Regions from separate parts of the Homo sapiens genome. Here region 2 is linked to region 1. Evidence: promoter capture Hi-C in human tissues and cell types (Jung and others, 2019). All regions are on one chromosome and are shown on one strand. Each heading gives the region's core, a stretch centred on a gene start or on the middle of the fragment in contact. The rest is flanking DNA. Distances are from core to core; before and after follow the strand shown.

Region 1 (7,130 bases), core at 1,231-3,730:
GTGGCTCACTCCTGTAAACCCAGCACTTTGGAAAGCCGAGGCAGGCAGATCACTTGAGGTCAAGAGTTCGAGCCCACCCTGGCCAACATGGTGAAACCCTGTCTCTACTAAAAAAGACAAAAATTAGCCAGGCGTGGTGGCGCACACCTGTAATCCCAGCTACTCGGGAGGCTGACGCAGGAGAATCGCTTGAACCCAGGAGGCGGAGGCTGCAGTGAGCCGAGATTACGCCACTGCACTCCAGCGTAGGGAACAGAGTAAGACTCCTTTTCTCAAAATAAATAAATAAATAAATAAACCTTAATAGGGCTGTTAACAAGACTAAACTCAGCAAAGGGACAGCAAACTACCGTTTTGGCTTCTGGGATGAGTTTTCAGGGGAAGCACCTGGGTTAGGAGGTGGGGGGTGCGGAAATTTGACAAGTGGAAAGGAAATGTGAGACTTCTGAACAATCTAGTTTCGCTGAAACCTGCTGAAGAAATGTGACAAAAATTGAGGGTGAAAATAATGGACCTTAGAATTGAGCCCCTGGGGCCGGGCACCGTGACTCACGCCTGTAATCCTAGCACTTTGGGAGGCCGAGGCGGGAGGATCACTTGAGGTCAGGAGTTCGAGACCAGCCTGGGCAACTCGACAACACCCCGTCTCTACTAAAAATACAAAATTTAGCCGGGCATGGTAGCACGCGCCTGTAATCCCAGCTCCTCAGGAGACTGAGGCAGGAGAATCGCATGAACCCCAGAGGCCGAGGTTGCAATGAGCCGAGAGCATGCCACTGCACTCCAGCCTGGGGCGACAGAGCGAGACTCCATCTCAATCAATCAATAACAAGTGAGCCCCTGGGCAGGGCACGGTGGTTCATGCCTGTAAGCCCAGTACTCCAGAAGGCCGAGGCTGGAGGACTGCTTGAGTCCAGAAGTTCGAGACCATCCTGAGTGACATAGTGAAACCCGATTTCTACTAAAAATAAATAAAATTAGCCAAGCATGGTGGCGCACGCCTGCAACGCCAGCTACTCAGGAGGCTGAGGTGGGAGAATCACCTGAGCCAGGAGCCAGGGAGGTCGAGGCTGCAGTGAACCAAGATCGCACCACTGCACTCCAGCCTGGGCAGCCAGAGTGAGACCCTGTCTGTCTCAAAAAAGAAAAAAAAAAAAAAAAAAAGAAGAGAGACCCTGAATGGCAAATAATACAGAACTTCTTACAAGATTTTGTCTAAGAACACGACAACGGATTAAAATGTATCTACAAGTATTCAAAAGGCAGACACTGTAACCAGTGAAAGACCTGAGTGACCCACCATTTTTTAGAACTGTGTCTATGCTGGTCCCAAAACTTACTATGGGTTCTAGAAGTCAAGGCGGGCCCTTGAGCCACTAACAATTGTGGCCAACACACTGGTTAGAATGCATTATCGTTAAAGTGCAACCCTATTGAGGGGTTAACGCGCACAAAACAGAGAGTGACCCAATATAGCACAATATCCCGAAATAATGTGGAAAACAAAAGCGATTGCAAAGTTATCATAAGAGCACCGATTTTATTAAATTCCTATCCGTGCCAACCCAATCTCAAGACCCCGAGTCCATCCGGAACCCGTGCCTGAGGCTGCTCCAGCTCGCTCTCTTCCGGGCGCTGCCCCGCCCCCACTCACGTGGGACGCTGACCGCTCCACGGTCTCGCGGCTGGCAAGCCCCAGAACCCGTTCGATTCAACTATTATTAAGCGCCTGCTGTGTGCAAAGTTCTGAGCTTTCTGTTGGACTCAAAAGACTCAGTACGACCTGGGCCTGGTCTCTGCCCTCAAGAAAAGGACCGCGATCCGTTTACATCCTAGGCCTGCAGTCCTTCCAGTTCCTACCCGTGCCCTCCGCTGGTCCGAGTACCGGCCAGAAGCCTTTCTTCGGCCGACGGGCCACCGGGGAAAAGGCCCTCGCGCTTAGCACACACCCACGCTCATAGTGGGCCGCGGCCCCTAGTGTCCTAATACCTACTGGGGGTCCCTGACCTACCGGGACCTCGGCTCGGAACGGAGGCGACTCCTCGGCCCGCGTTCCCCAAGCAGCGAGGGTCCCAGACTGGAACAAGCATTATCTCCTAACCCCAGTGCACGCGGCAGGCCCGGCCCACACTTACGGCGTGCAGCGGTCGCTATACTCATTAGCGATAGTCTCGATGCCGCCGGCGCGGGCCACAGCGACGTAGCAGCTCTGGAAGCCCAGGTCTATGCCCACCACCGACATGGCGCCGGCTACTGCTCGGGCTCGGGCCCGGGTCCGGCCACCGAGACAGGACACGGACCCCCGGCGGGGCTAGCGAGTGGAAAGCAGGCCTCTTGGGCCGAGGCTACTGAGGGGCTTGCGGTGTCCACGCGAGCGCCTAAGTCCTTCCAGTGGGTACTGCAACCGAGAGCGCTGCTCAGGCCGGCTCCGGCTCAGTGGCCGCAGAGGAGGCGCCGGTAGCGGGGGCGGAGAAGATCTCGAAAGATCTCGTTGCGACGAGAGCGGAGCCGCAGCACCAGAGCTACGAAAGAACGGGATGTTCTCGCGATATCCCGGCTCAGGCGCTTTTCCCCTTGAGGCCCCGCCCCCAGTACGTCTGAATACGTCACGTCCTGGCTCGAGAACCTGGGAAAGGACTGGGTGGCTGAAAGATGGCTGGAAAGCGCATTTAGCCAACCGAGCCTGCGCATGGAACCTGCGGCGCTGCACAGCTGCATAGAGATGTGGAGCACCTCCCTTTACCGTAGAAAGTAGGCGAGCCAGCTCGAGGCACTATACTGAGGAAGCGCTGCGGCCTACTTCCGCCGTTTTTCTTAACATCAAAGAAACTTCCGGTAGTGGGGTGTCTTGCATTCCACCGTGTCGGTGCCCCAGAATGAGACGCAAGCTGATCTGCAGATCCCGCAGGGTGCCTTCTGCTCTTTTCGGGGCAGGTTGGCCGGTAGGGGAGAAGGCCGCCATTGGAACGCGGCCTTTATGTCGGGTTCTCTCAAGAGTCTAAGATCGCACCCTCACCAGCGGAGGGAAGGAGCCCACTCCCAGCCACACCGCTTTGTTTTCTTTCGCTTAGCCTTGTTGCGCCGTTCTCTAAGCCACTCATGTCCTTAGATCAGATTGAGGGGCCCGCAGGATTTAAGCCTTTAATCCACAGCACATTCCAAGCACCTACCCGGTGGTAGGCCCTAACAAGGAACACAGGCAAGTGACACGCTGCCTGGCCTGAAAGGTCCGCTCAGACCTTTACATGAAGTTAATAAATGTTAAGCTTCAGGGCCCCTCGCTTGTATGGCCTCCTGGGAGAATAGATAGTTGCTGAGTTGTGGAGAGGGGAAGCCAGCTTGAGATTAGGAAGCAAATCTATGTAAGCATTTCTAATAAATTACCCAGAGAGATCTAAGGAGAATCTGAATCTCCAAGTCTCTAGTAATGTGTTGTGATTTGTCGTTTTAATTATTTGTTTTGTGTATTTGTAGGGCCCCCCAATGGTATATAAGTTTCACCTCTGCAAAACCTGGATCATCCCCATCATGAGGGTGGCTAAACAAGTAAAGGTGACCCCAGTACAGAATGGCGAGTGCTATATGCACAGAATGGTGGAGACTAGGACAACTTCCCAGAAAAGGAAAAGGCTGTGTTCAAGTTTGGAAAACTAGCAATAGAGACCATAGTTTAAGGACTAAAAAGAAATTCTCCGTTGCTGGAGGGTACATCATGAGTTGAAGGTCTCAAGGCTAGAGTACCTGCCCTTCAGCCATTTTAAAAGTGAATGAGCAAAGAAGAAATTACATTGCCCTGGTATGCCCTTCCCTTTAAATACCTGCATTTCCTGCCACCTCCGGAGGTACTTCACTCTATAGGAGCAACCCCAAACCCGGGTTGATTACCATTAAAACTTGCAAATGGCCACACTGTTCTCACATTTTGCCTAACTAAAACCTGTTAATTCTTCAAAGACAAGTACCAGGTGCTACCTGTAAAAGGGTACTGGGAATAAAAAGAGTAGAGGCAGCCAGGAACAGCCTTTGGAAAAACGAGAGCAGGGACATATTTGTACATTGTATACCCATGTTCATAGTAGTTTATTCACGGTAGCTAAAAGGAGGAAACAATCCACATGTCCATTGACAGATGAATGAGTTTTCTAAATTTAGTGTATACGCGTAACAGTACATTATACAGCTTTGAAAAGACAAAGGAATGAAAGTCTGATAAATGCTACAGCATGAATGAACCTTGAAAATACGCTAAGTGGAAAGCCAAACAAATCAAAATTAATTTTTTTTAATTTTTAATTTTATATTCAAAATTTAATATGATTCCACTTGTATCAGGCACCTACAATAAACTACATAAAGACAGAAAAGCGGTTTCACAAGTAGAGTGAAATGGAGAGTTAAGGGATACAGAGTTTCAGTTTGGGAAGATGAGAAAGTTCTGGAGATAGATGCTGGTGGTAGTTGCATAACAATGTGCATGATCAGTGACAGATTTGTACATTTAAAAATGATGAAAATGGTAAATTTTATGTATATTTCACCACAATTTTTTAAAGTTTTTTTAAGTTAGGTTGACCTTGACCTTCCTTCCTCTGTTTTTCTCCTACCTAGGGGCAATATCAATAATACCAAGCACACTGTTGACCTTAATTATGACAGAGTCCTGTCTCCATCTGTTTATCTCAGTTGTTAATCACTGAGCAAACAACCCGAGCTGCCTAAGCTAAAGTGTCCAGTGGACCTAAAAGATCACTGTCTGTGTTACTGCCTGTTTCTGCCTTCCTTCTATTGGAAGACCTCCCTAGGTCTTAGCTAAGTTGATGAAAATTACACCCATATCTTATTATGTTCCAACTTCATACCTCAACTGCCTTGTTTGCCTTGGTACTGCTTTCAGTTTAAAATACCACCAGCCCTATCAATCTTTTTAATGATTTGTCCTTCTCAAAATAAAACATAACTACCATCAGTCACAGAGAGTACTCATCCTCCTATAAATAGTTTCCTGGATCATCAAACTTATAGCTTAAGAGATTATTCTGGGATATTTAAATAAATGAAGTCAGGAAAAGGTTATTTTAGAATCCTGAAGAATCTAACGTGGCAAGTTTCCAAGTATCACAGTTGCGAACCAACGAAGTGTCCAGAATATTTAATGTTGGAGGCACTGTGTTCGGAGAACAAATTCTTTCCATTTGGCAGAGTATCTTAGGTATTTAAGTATTTTAAAAGCAGGAAGTTGTTAAATGCCACTCTCAAATACAACGATTAAATTTAGTCCTAAGCAATCACAGAAGTGTTTGTTTTTAAATATACAGTGTTCATAGGCTGCCCAACAAAAGACAAAAGGTTCTCCATCAGCTGGGGACTCATATTTCTCCCTGACAAGTGTCCAGTGGAATCCTGCCCTACGCTCTGGAGCAGCTTCTGCAATTTTTTGCTTCACAAGGAAACTACCTGCTCAGATAATGGTGATTTTCTGACTTCCCTGATCTTACAGTGAGTGGAGCAATGCTTTTAGTCAAAGCAACAACCCTTTCTTAAACACCAAAACTCCAATAACTCAATAATAATGGTAATTACCATGTCTCTGGCATTCCTACAGCATATGCTAGCATTACGCCAGACACTGTATTGATACCAATATAATTCCTTTACTCGTCATAGCAAGCCCATCAGGTAGGTGATATTTTTCCTATTTTATAGAGACCTGATAAGGTTAAGGTACTTGTTCAAGGTCACACAATTTTCTCACAACTACACTGCTTCTCTATTTCTTCTTTTAGATGATCGCTTTCTGTCACCCAGACTGGAGTGCAGTGTCACGTTCATAGCTCACTGCAGCCTGGGCTCAAACAATCCTCCCACCTCAGCCTCCTGAGTAGCTAGGACTACAGGCATGTGCTGCCACATACAACTCATTTTTTCATTTTTTTGTAAAAATGAGGATCTCTTAGCCAGGCACAGTGGCTCATGCCTGTAATCCCAGTGTGTCCAGAATTGGTAGGTTCTTGGTCTCCCTAACTTCAAGAATGAAGCTGCAGACCCTCGCGGTGTTACATTTCTTAAAGATGGTGTGTCCAGAGTTTGTTCCTTCTGCTGTTCGGACGTGTCTGAAGTTTCTTCCTTCTGGTGGGTTCGTGTTCTACGCTGACTTCGGGAGTGAAGCTGTAGAACTTTGCAGTGAGTGTTATAGCTTTTAAAGGCAGCGCAGTCTCAAAGAGTGAGCAGCAGCAAGATCTATTGTGAAGAGCAAAAGAACAAAACTTTCACAGTGTGGAAGGGGACCTGACCAGGTTGCGCTGCTGGTTGTTGGGGAAGGTGGGGGGCACGCAGCCTGCTTTTATTCCTTTATCTGGCCCCACCCACATCCTGCTGATTGGTCCATTTTACAGAGTGCCAATTGGTCCATTTTACAGAGAGCTGACTGGTCCGTTTTGACCGAGTGCTGATTGGTGTCTTTACAAACCTTTAGCTAGACACAGAGTGCTGATTGGTGCATTTACAATCCTTTAGCTAGACACAAAAGTTCTCCAAGTACCCTACCTGATTAGCTAGACACAGAGTGCAGATTGGTGCATTTACAAACCTCCAGCTAGACACAGAGTGCTGATTGGTGCGTTTACAAACCTTTAGCTAGACATAGAGTTCTGATTGGTGCGTTTACAGTCCTTTAGCTGGACAGAAAAGTTCTCCAAGTCCCCACCAGACCCAGAAGCGCAGCCGGCTTCACCTCTCAATGGCACTCACCATGGGACTTTGTGGCATCTAGCCGGGGCACTCCAGCAGCCCAGAGGGAGTTCATCCCCCCATCAAGCCCAGCAGGCACCAGTCGGCAGCGCTGAGTGCAGGCCACTGAGCCCTCGCCCACGCGAAACCCACTCCCACCCGGATCCCACACCAGGCCACTAGTGCTGCGGGCAGCCCCGGCTCCTGCCTGTGCTTCTCCCTCCACACCTCCCCTCGAGCAGTGGGAGCCTGCTCCAGCCTCGGCCAGCCCCAGAGAGGGGCCCCCACAGCGCAGGGGCGGGCTGAAGGGCTCCTCGAGCATGGCCAGAGTGGACGCCAGGCTGAGGAGGCGCCAAGAGCGAGCGAGGGCTGCTAGCACGTTGTCACCTCTCATCAGCACTTTG
Region 2 (7,143 bases), core at 394-2,893, 290 kb after region 1:
ATCTGTTCCCTGAGGGACCCCACATCCTCTTACCCCTCGTGCCCACATGATTCTACTTCTCTGGCTCTGCCCTGCCCTATCCCATTCCGTCATAATCCCATCCTTGGCCTCTTTTCTCTGGGTCTCCACAGCCTACAAGAGACATACGAGGCCAAGAGGAAGGAGTTCCTAAGTGAGCTGCAGAGGAAGGAGGAAGAGATGAGGCAGATGTTTGTCAACAAAGTGAAGGAGACAGAGCTGGAGCTGAAGGAGAAGGAAAGGGAGGTATGTGCCAGGCTGGGGGCTGGGATGGGGAAGCTGAGGGAGGGAAGGCCTGGCTGAGGGTAGAGGTGGGGGTGCCTTCCTGGCCCAGGCTCAAGCCCTCCTCTTGCTCCCCGCATCTTCTGCCCCCTTTCTGATGCCAGCTCCATGAGAAGTTTGAGCACCTGAAGCGGGTCCACCAGGAGGAGAAGCGCAAGGTGGAGGAAAAGCGCCGGGAACTGGAGGAGGAGACCAACGCCTTCAATCGCCGGAAGGCTGCGGTGGAGGCCCTGCAGTCGCAGGCCTTGCACGCCACCTCGCAGCAGCCCCTGAGGAAGGACAAGGACAAGAAGAAGTAGGTGGCAGGCTGCGCCTGCGCTGGCTCCTCTTGCTCCTGTGGGCTCTTGCTTTCGTTCTTGTCCCTCACCTCCCTTCTCGCTCTCCTGCTCGCCCTCTCTTACCCCTTTCCTGTTTGGTTTTCCCTCATCTTCAGTGGCTCTCCCCCCAGCTTTCTTGGTTGCCTTTTTCTTTCACTAGTGATCCAGTGTCTCGCCGTCTGGATTGCTCTGATACTCATGCAGTCTCACTTGCACAGGCAATCTTGTGCTCCCCCTCCCTCTCCCTTCTCCCTTTTTCTCTCCTTCTCTTCCCCCTTCTTCCTCTTCCTCCAACTTTCTTGCTCACCCATTCGCTCTCCCATAGCCCCCTTGGCAGCTGTGGCCCTGTTGCAGCGTGGTGAAGGTGGGGCTGCACGGGTGAGGAGCAGCGTGGAGAGGGCGAAGCTGCAGGGCTCTGGGAATGCTGGGAATGGTCTTTCAGGCCAGGGGCGGGACAGGACCTGGGAATGTCAGCATCTCCAGCCAGATTCCAAAAGCCGTGGTGGTTTCTGCTTGGACACCTGTGGCGCATCCCTCCTCAGTCTGTGGGGCAGTGGTGTGGAGCCCGTATTGGCTGGCAGGTGGTGATGGAGAACTGCGGGCACTCGCGCCAGCCAACACTGGCCTCCTGGAGACTGGTCACCACACAGCTGTTCTGAAGGGCCCGCAGGGCTTAAGGGAGGAAAGCGGCTTCCCACAGGGGCTCTGTGGGTTCTTTTGGGGAGAAGAGCTGCCCCTCAAGTAGAGGCTGGAGTTGTTCCTGCAGAGTGGAGAGAGGAGAGAAAGACTGGATGGCAGGGAGGCCTTTCCCAGCACCAGGAGTGCAGTCAACGGAGTAGTCAGGTGGGGACAACTATGAGTCACTTCTCCCTGGCGATCTTCATAGCCTGTTTCCACACCCTTAGCTGGAGTCCAGATGTCCTGGCTTCTGGGGCTCACCCTCGCCCACCCACCTCATTCACAGCCATGCTATGTCACACTGTGGGGATCCCATCCATCCCTGCTTCTCCCTGCCCCGGCCTATCTTGGGTACCATCCTTCTCTTGCCAACCTAGGAACTAAGCAGGTGAACCCAACCTGGCCGTCATTCTCGGGATCCATTTCCTCCTGGGATATTTGGGGATGTGTATGCCCAGGCCCTTCCTTCCTTGGTGGCAATGGAGCCTAGCCATTAGGGCCAGCGGGAGTCTGTGACCCAGGTACTGGCACCCAAAGTGACTTTGCCCTGCTTCCTGCCATCTTGTTAAAGAAAAGGTAGCCAGGATTCCCTAGGAAATAAGCTGTGGAGAAACCACTCAGCAACTGCAGACAGGGGTCTGTGGCCAGTTCAGGGTCTGAGGGCCAGTGAAGGTGGGTGCAGGCAGGCTGAAAGGACACCAGCACAGCCCTCGGGGTGGGGGCTTGTCACTGGTGTCTGGTCTCCCTGCTTTTCCCATGTGGCCTGGGCTCCATGATACGTTCTCCAGGCCTGGGCCTGGAAAACAGGTCTTTCCTGTTCTCTGGACCTGCTAGAAAGCTTCAGTCAGTTTGGTCCCTGGGAGAGAAAACGCTCTTCCCATGACGGCTCTGTGGAGGCCAGGAATGGGGTAGGTGGGTTGACTGGGAGTACTCCTTCCTGCCGCCCTGGTCAAGGGACTAGTGTGAGTCGGGAGTGCATTTTTGGAATGGGGGCAGGGGTGTTTTTCATGACCATTTATTTGAGTGGTTTTGATTGGTTATGCATACTCTTTAAATTTGAATCCAAATTTTTTGCAAAATTACTTCCCAATCAGATCTTGACCCTTAGCCTGGGACACCACAAACTGAGGTGAATTCTCTGCTTTGCTCGTCACAAATGCCAAACTGACTGCCCTTTCACGGTGTCCATCTTGCTGTCTTTTGCTTCTGTTTGATTTGGTCTGCATATCTTTTAATGTGTCTGTTTTTGTTTTGTTTGTTTTATTTTTATTTTTCAGTTAACGCACGCACAGACTTACATGTCAAGAGTGGACTTTAGACTTTCATGTGTTAAGTTGCTTGAGTTACACCTTGTGACCCTTCTCCCATAACATGGTGTGAGGACGGACTGGGAGCCGGTACAGACTCCAGTGTTTACAGCCTTGCTTTCCTCCCACCGACCCTGGCCCCAGGCTGCCCCGGGCCTGGCGGGCCACCCCTCTCTATGCAAACACGTAAAAGCCATGAATGCTGGAATCCAAAACTGACGAGGTTTATTTTTTTCAGAGCCAGTGGCTGGTCTTCCATTTACAGTGTCACTATTCCCTGACGGAGCTGTTATGTGCCGCTCTAGCGAAGGCCCCAGCCGGGATGCTAGGCCTAATTGTTCAGCGTGGAGATGGCAACTCACGTGGTGCCCTAGGTGCAGCTGCGTGGTCTGGTATACATGCTGCAAAATTCACCCAGTTCCCCTCATTTTAATTTTTCTAACCTACAGCTTAATTTTAATAACTTTAAAACACTTCTAAATATTTATTTTGGCACCAGCGTCAAGACAAATAATATCCTCTCCCATTATTTTCATAAGTAACACAGATTCCCTGATTTTTAAAAACTAAAAATACAGCTAAACCTTTCTTATGTATAAAGTATGCCTATCATATACAGGGAGAGGTGGGTAATAAACTTCCTGTAATGACAGTGTTTGGCATTTCTTTATGGATGGAATTGGAACATGAACAAGACCATGTCCAGCGTTTTTACTGTGAATGTAAATGGAACAGCAGCCCAAAGCTGTTGTCTGTGCCCCAGAGGTGCTACCTGTAGACAGGGACCAACTCCATGTGTGTGTGTTAAGTGTTTGACTCCAATTAAGACTCCCAAGCAAATCCTGCATATTCCAAATGTAAAGAGTACTCAGTGGGAAAAAGGTTGTTACCTCAAAGTCATTGCTTCTTTCCTGGCTGGGTCACAGGGTGAAGAGATGAAGGTGTCTGATGTATATAGACAATTAGGGAAAAATGAGCGGCAAAGGAGCTTTCCCCTTCAGCTGCACTCTAAAGGGGAACATTTTAAGGAAGTACTAGCAGCTTTGACTCTTCTATGCTCCTGTTGGTTTACAAGCCACCAAGAATGTCAGTGTTGAGAATACGGCCTGGTAAAATGGGAGATGTAAAATGACTAAATGAAAGGAAGGGTAGTTTTAATGTTGAAGCACCGTGCTGGGCACTGGAGCTACCCAGAGGAATGCACAACGCTCCCCTCAAGGAGCTCACAGTCTAGCCTACTCCCTGGCTGGAAGCCTCAGGAAGACGTGCTAATTTATTGTGGAATTGGTAGTTTGCTTTTCATGCCCCTGTCTTCCTTCTCATGACCATTTCCCCCTTTCTGTCTGGCTTGCATTATTGATTTCCAGGACCAAGTCCTGGCTTCCTCCTGCCTTCCTGAGATGATGTTCTGCTCAGGGAGAAGTGGAGGGGTGAGCTGTGTGTGTCCACCGAGGCACGGCCAGGAAGAGGCAGCCTTTACCTGTGAGGGGCTCCATGCTCCAGCAGCAGAGCAGGTTCTAGTGACAATTCAACTTTTTATGCTATGACCAGGGGTGGATCTAAATTTTATGGGGCTGAAAGCTTGAATTATTTAGAAAGACTTCTTTAAGAAAAACAATGTTAATATAAAATTAGGTACAGGGTCTTGGAAGGGGCCCTGAAGATTAAGCTTCCTTAGCGTCACAATAAGTCCGTATCTGGTTGCAATTGAAAACTGATGCTTCAGTGAGGGTATCTAAAAAGGTAAACTGGCATATCCAGGGCAAATGTGGGCTGCCAATGGCTCATCTCTAGGGTAATTTTATGTCTGAAAGTGTATGCAGTTGGGTCAGAGCATGACCTTTAAGATAGCCTCTCTCAGCTAACATATTTATGAAGATGAGGCCTGGTGACCCAGCAGGTTCATTGGATACATAAGAAATGAGAATTCCTGGTTCATGGGCCAACCTAGGACTCTGGAGTATGCAGACTTGGCCATTCGTCCATTGTGGCCTGCGGGTCGCACCCCAGGCATACTGAAAGGCCATACTCGTGGCTGGCTGCCTGCGGGCCTAAGCCTTCCCAGGATCTTCAGGACACTTGACAGACTTGTGTTTTCTGGTCTGAGCTGCCTCCACAGGTCCCTCCAGCAAGCCTCACTGCACCTCTCCCCTGCTGTTTGTGTTTGGAATTTTGTCTTCTTTAGCTGAGACCAAATTAAACCTTGGTGCATAAAGTGAGCTTAAAACTTGCCACTGTTTAGTAAGTTAGCCCCCATAGAATGTGACCCTGTCTGCAGAGTCTCATTTACCCCTCTTTTTCTCATTGTCATTTGTTGGCTTTATTAGGGCTGTCTTACAGGATCATGTTGGCATTTACTATCATGTCTTTATCATAAACCATGTTTGTTTGAGGTAGAAGAATCACCATATAATTCGTTGCCCAAATTGGGACTATTGAGAGAGAAAGGGGATGCTATTAATTACACCAGATCAAAAGGCATAAACCAGACCTGTCCCAGGCCGATGTGGAAATATGTTCTTTCTAGTTGTGGGTACCCTGATCTAGGTGGTTTGTAATTGTGCATTACTGACTGCATATGTTTGTGTATGTGTAAATGTGGGCTCCCTGTTAAGTGGGGCTCATGGATACGAGGCCTGAGGAAGTGTGGCTTGCTAGTCTGTTACGTTAACATGCTTTTCTAAAATTGCTTCACGTGTTAATTCATTTACTCCTGCATTCATTGACTGTTTTTGTTCTTTTCCATTCACTTTGTACTTATTTTTTTCATTAAATTTTGCATTTATTTTGAGTTTTTGTGGTGTCTTTTTTGGGCAGTAGCTTTTCTGATTTAACGTTTCCTGAGCCCATTAATCTGCTACAACTGTGGTAAAATACAGCTTGTCTGTTCTTTGAATTTTGTGGAGGTTGATCTACTTCTGTAGGAATTGTTTTAATAGGAAACCCTGCTACAGACATCTGTGAAAGGCTCTTGCATAGGTGGGGGATGGAGGGAAGAGTCACAGGAAAGTTACAGGAAGGTAAAGGGGCAGCCTGTGGTCCATGAATCTTTATTGGTTAACTGGGTGCAGGACATGAGAAAAGGGGCACCTGCCCTTGAGGAGTGTTCCTCCTTAACACAAAGGCTTGCCACGGGACTACTAATATTCGAGTGCCAGGACTGCTCGGAACCATATTACATGCATTAACTCCTCTAATCCTCATCCTAATCCTATGATTAGGGACCATTCATCCCCATTTTATAGCTGAAGCACAGAGGTTTAAGTAATTACCCAAGGTTACATGGCAAGTAACTGGAGAAGTTGAGATTTGAACGCTGGTAGTCTGTACCCTTAAATCCTGAGCTACACCTGCTCCTTGGCATCTCAATGGAATGATGGAAGAGTAGTGAAAGTGTGGCTAGTGTTAAAGTACACAGCCTGATGGTGTGGGCTGGTGGACCTGAGACTGTTTTTTAGAGGTAGAAAGCCCTAGGGGACAGGCAAAAGTGGCTGAGGAAGAGCAGACTGGTGAAAAGAAGTGATAAAAAGTATGTGGGTTTGTTTTTTAAGGAGCTTTCTCCATTGAGCACTAGGTAGGTTTGGGAAGACCAAAATGAGAAAATGGGGACCCCTGCAGGGAGAGTGGTATGAACACATCCCTAATGCAGGCATAGCTCAGCTCTACTTGTGCAGGCAGCAGGGAGGCAAAGTAAAGTATTCACCAAGCTTTGAAGGACAGAGACTCTCCAGGAAGCCAGGGGGAGGAGGGCCTCCTAGGTGGTGGAAACATCATCAAATGACTTGGCTCATTCATTTCAGGGAAGTACTGTTTGGACAAGTTTAAGACAGGTCTATGATGCTCCCCCTGCCCTGTTCCTCCCTGAGCCCACCTACCTTTCTTTCTGCCATAGCATCTGCCTCTGAGCTTTTTCCATCTCCATTTTCTTCAGCCTCATTCCTTCACCAATCCCTGCCTTTCAATAGCTGGGGTCAAAAGGAAAATAGATTGTATCCATATTTCTCCCTGAGAAATGTTTCCCAATCTCTGAGTTGAGGTGGGATAGGAGTTCCTAATGTCAGAAAAGAATATTAGAGGGAAGTAGGATGGGACCTGGGGCCCCACGGCAAGCTTGAAAAGCACATAAGATTTTTAAAAATCCACGAGTGGGACTTCGGCAATACAAAAGTGAGCTTCCCTATAGAAGAGTTCTATCATTTATAGAAAGCCAGAGCAGAAGGTTGTCTCTTACCCCAGTCCTAGGACTCACATGTCTACCCTCTGCTTTCTCCAAGAGGTTTGAGTTGGATCAGCTCTCAGAATCCAGCTCACATCCATAGCCACCTGGTTAAGCAGCAGATGTCTTCCAGCAGTTCCCCTAAAGCCTGGGATGCCTAAACTGGTATGGGCCCTCAGGATGTCCTTCTGCCTCATGCACTGTGGTCCCACTTACACTGGAAGGAAGGAGGCAGAGGGCACTCAACGGCCACCACTGGAAGCTGTGAGCAGCATGGCCTCAGCATCTCCATCTGTAAAATGGGTTCTGGACTAGAGGAGAGTTC

Evidence for each region. The method cuts DNA at HindIII sites, captures the fragments that hold promoters and counts their contacts. A contact is called where the count stands out against the background at its distance.
Region 2: a fragment that was not itself captured here is called in contact with the fragment with the promoter of HSPA4 in region 1 in 1 of the 25 tissues and cell types used here (ovary).

What each region holds. Positions count from the first base shown.
Region 1 is chr5:133,047,363-133,054,492 of GRCh38, reverse strand. HSPA4 (heat shock protein family A (Hsp70) member 4) reads right to left here and starts at 2,480. Exons shown (of 19, transcript NM_002154.4): 1 at 2,136-2,480. The coding sequence starts at 2,242. RefSeq lists enhancers at 304-1,266, 2,505-2,684, 2,875-2,924, 2,995-3,044, 2,231-3,193. The HindIII fragment of the contact is 13,363 bases long and covers 1-5,967 here.
Region 2 is chr5:132,754,254-132,761,396 of GRCh38, reverse strand. It overlaps SEPTIN8 (septin 8), which reads left to right. Exons shown (of 10, transcript NM_001098811.2): 8 at 132-264; 9 at 405-595. CCNI2 (cyclin I family member 2) reads right to left here. Exons shown (of 6, transcript NM_001039780.4): 6 at 6,994-7,143. Among named protein-coding and RNA genes, the nearest start is that of CCNI2, 10 kb to the right of the region's middle. The HindIII fragment of the contact is 7,294 bases long and covers 1-5,290 here.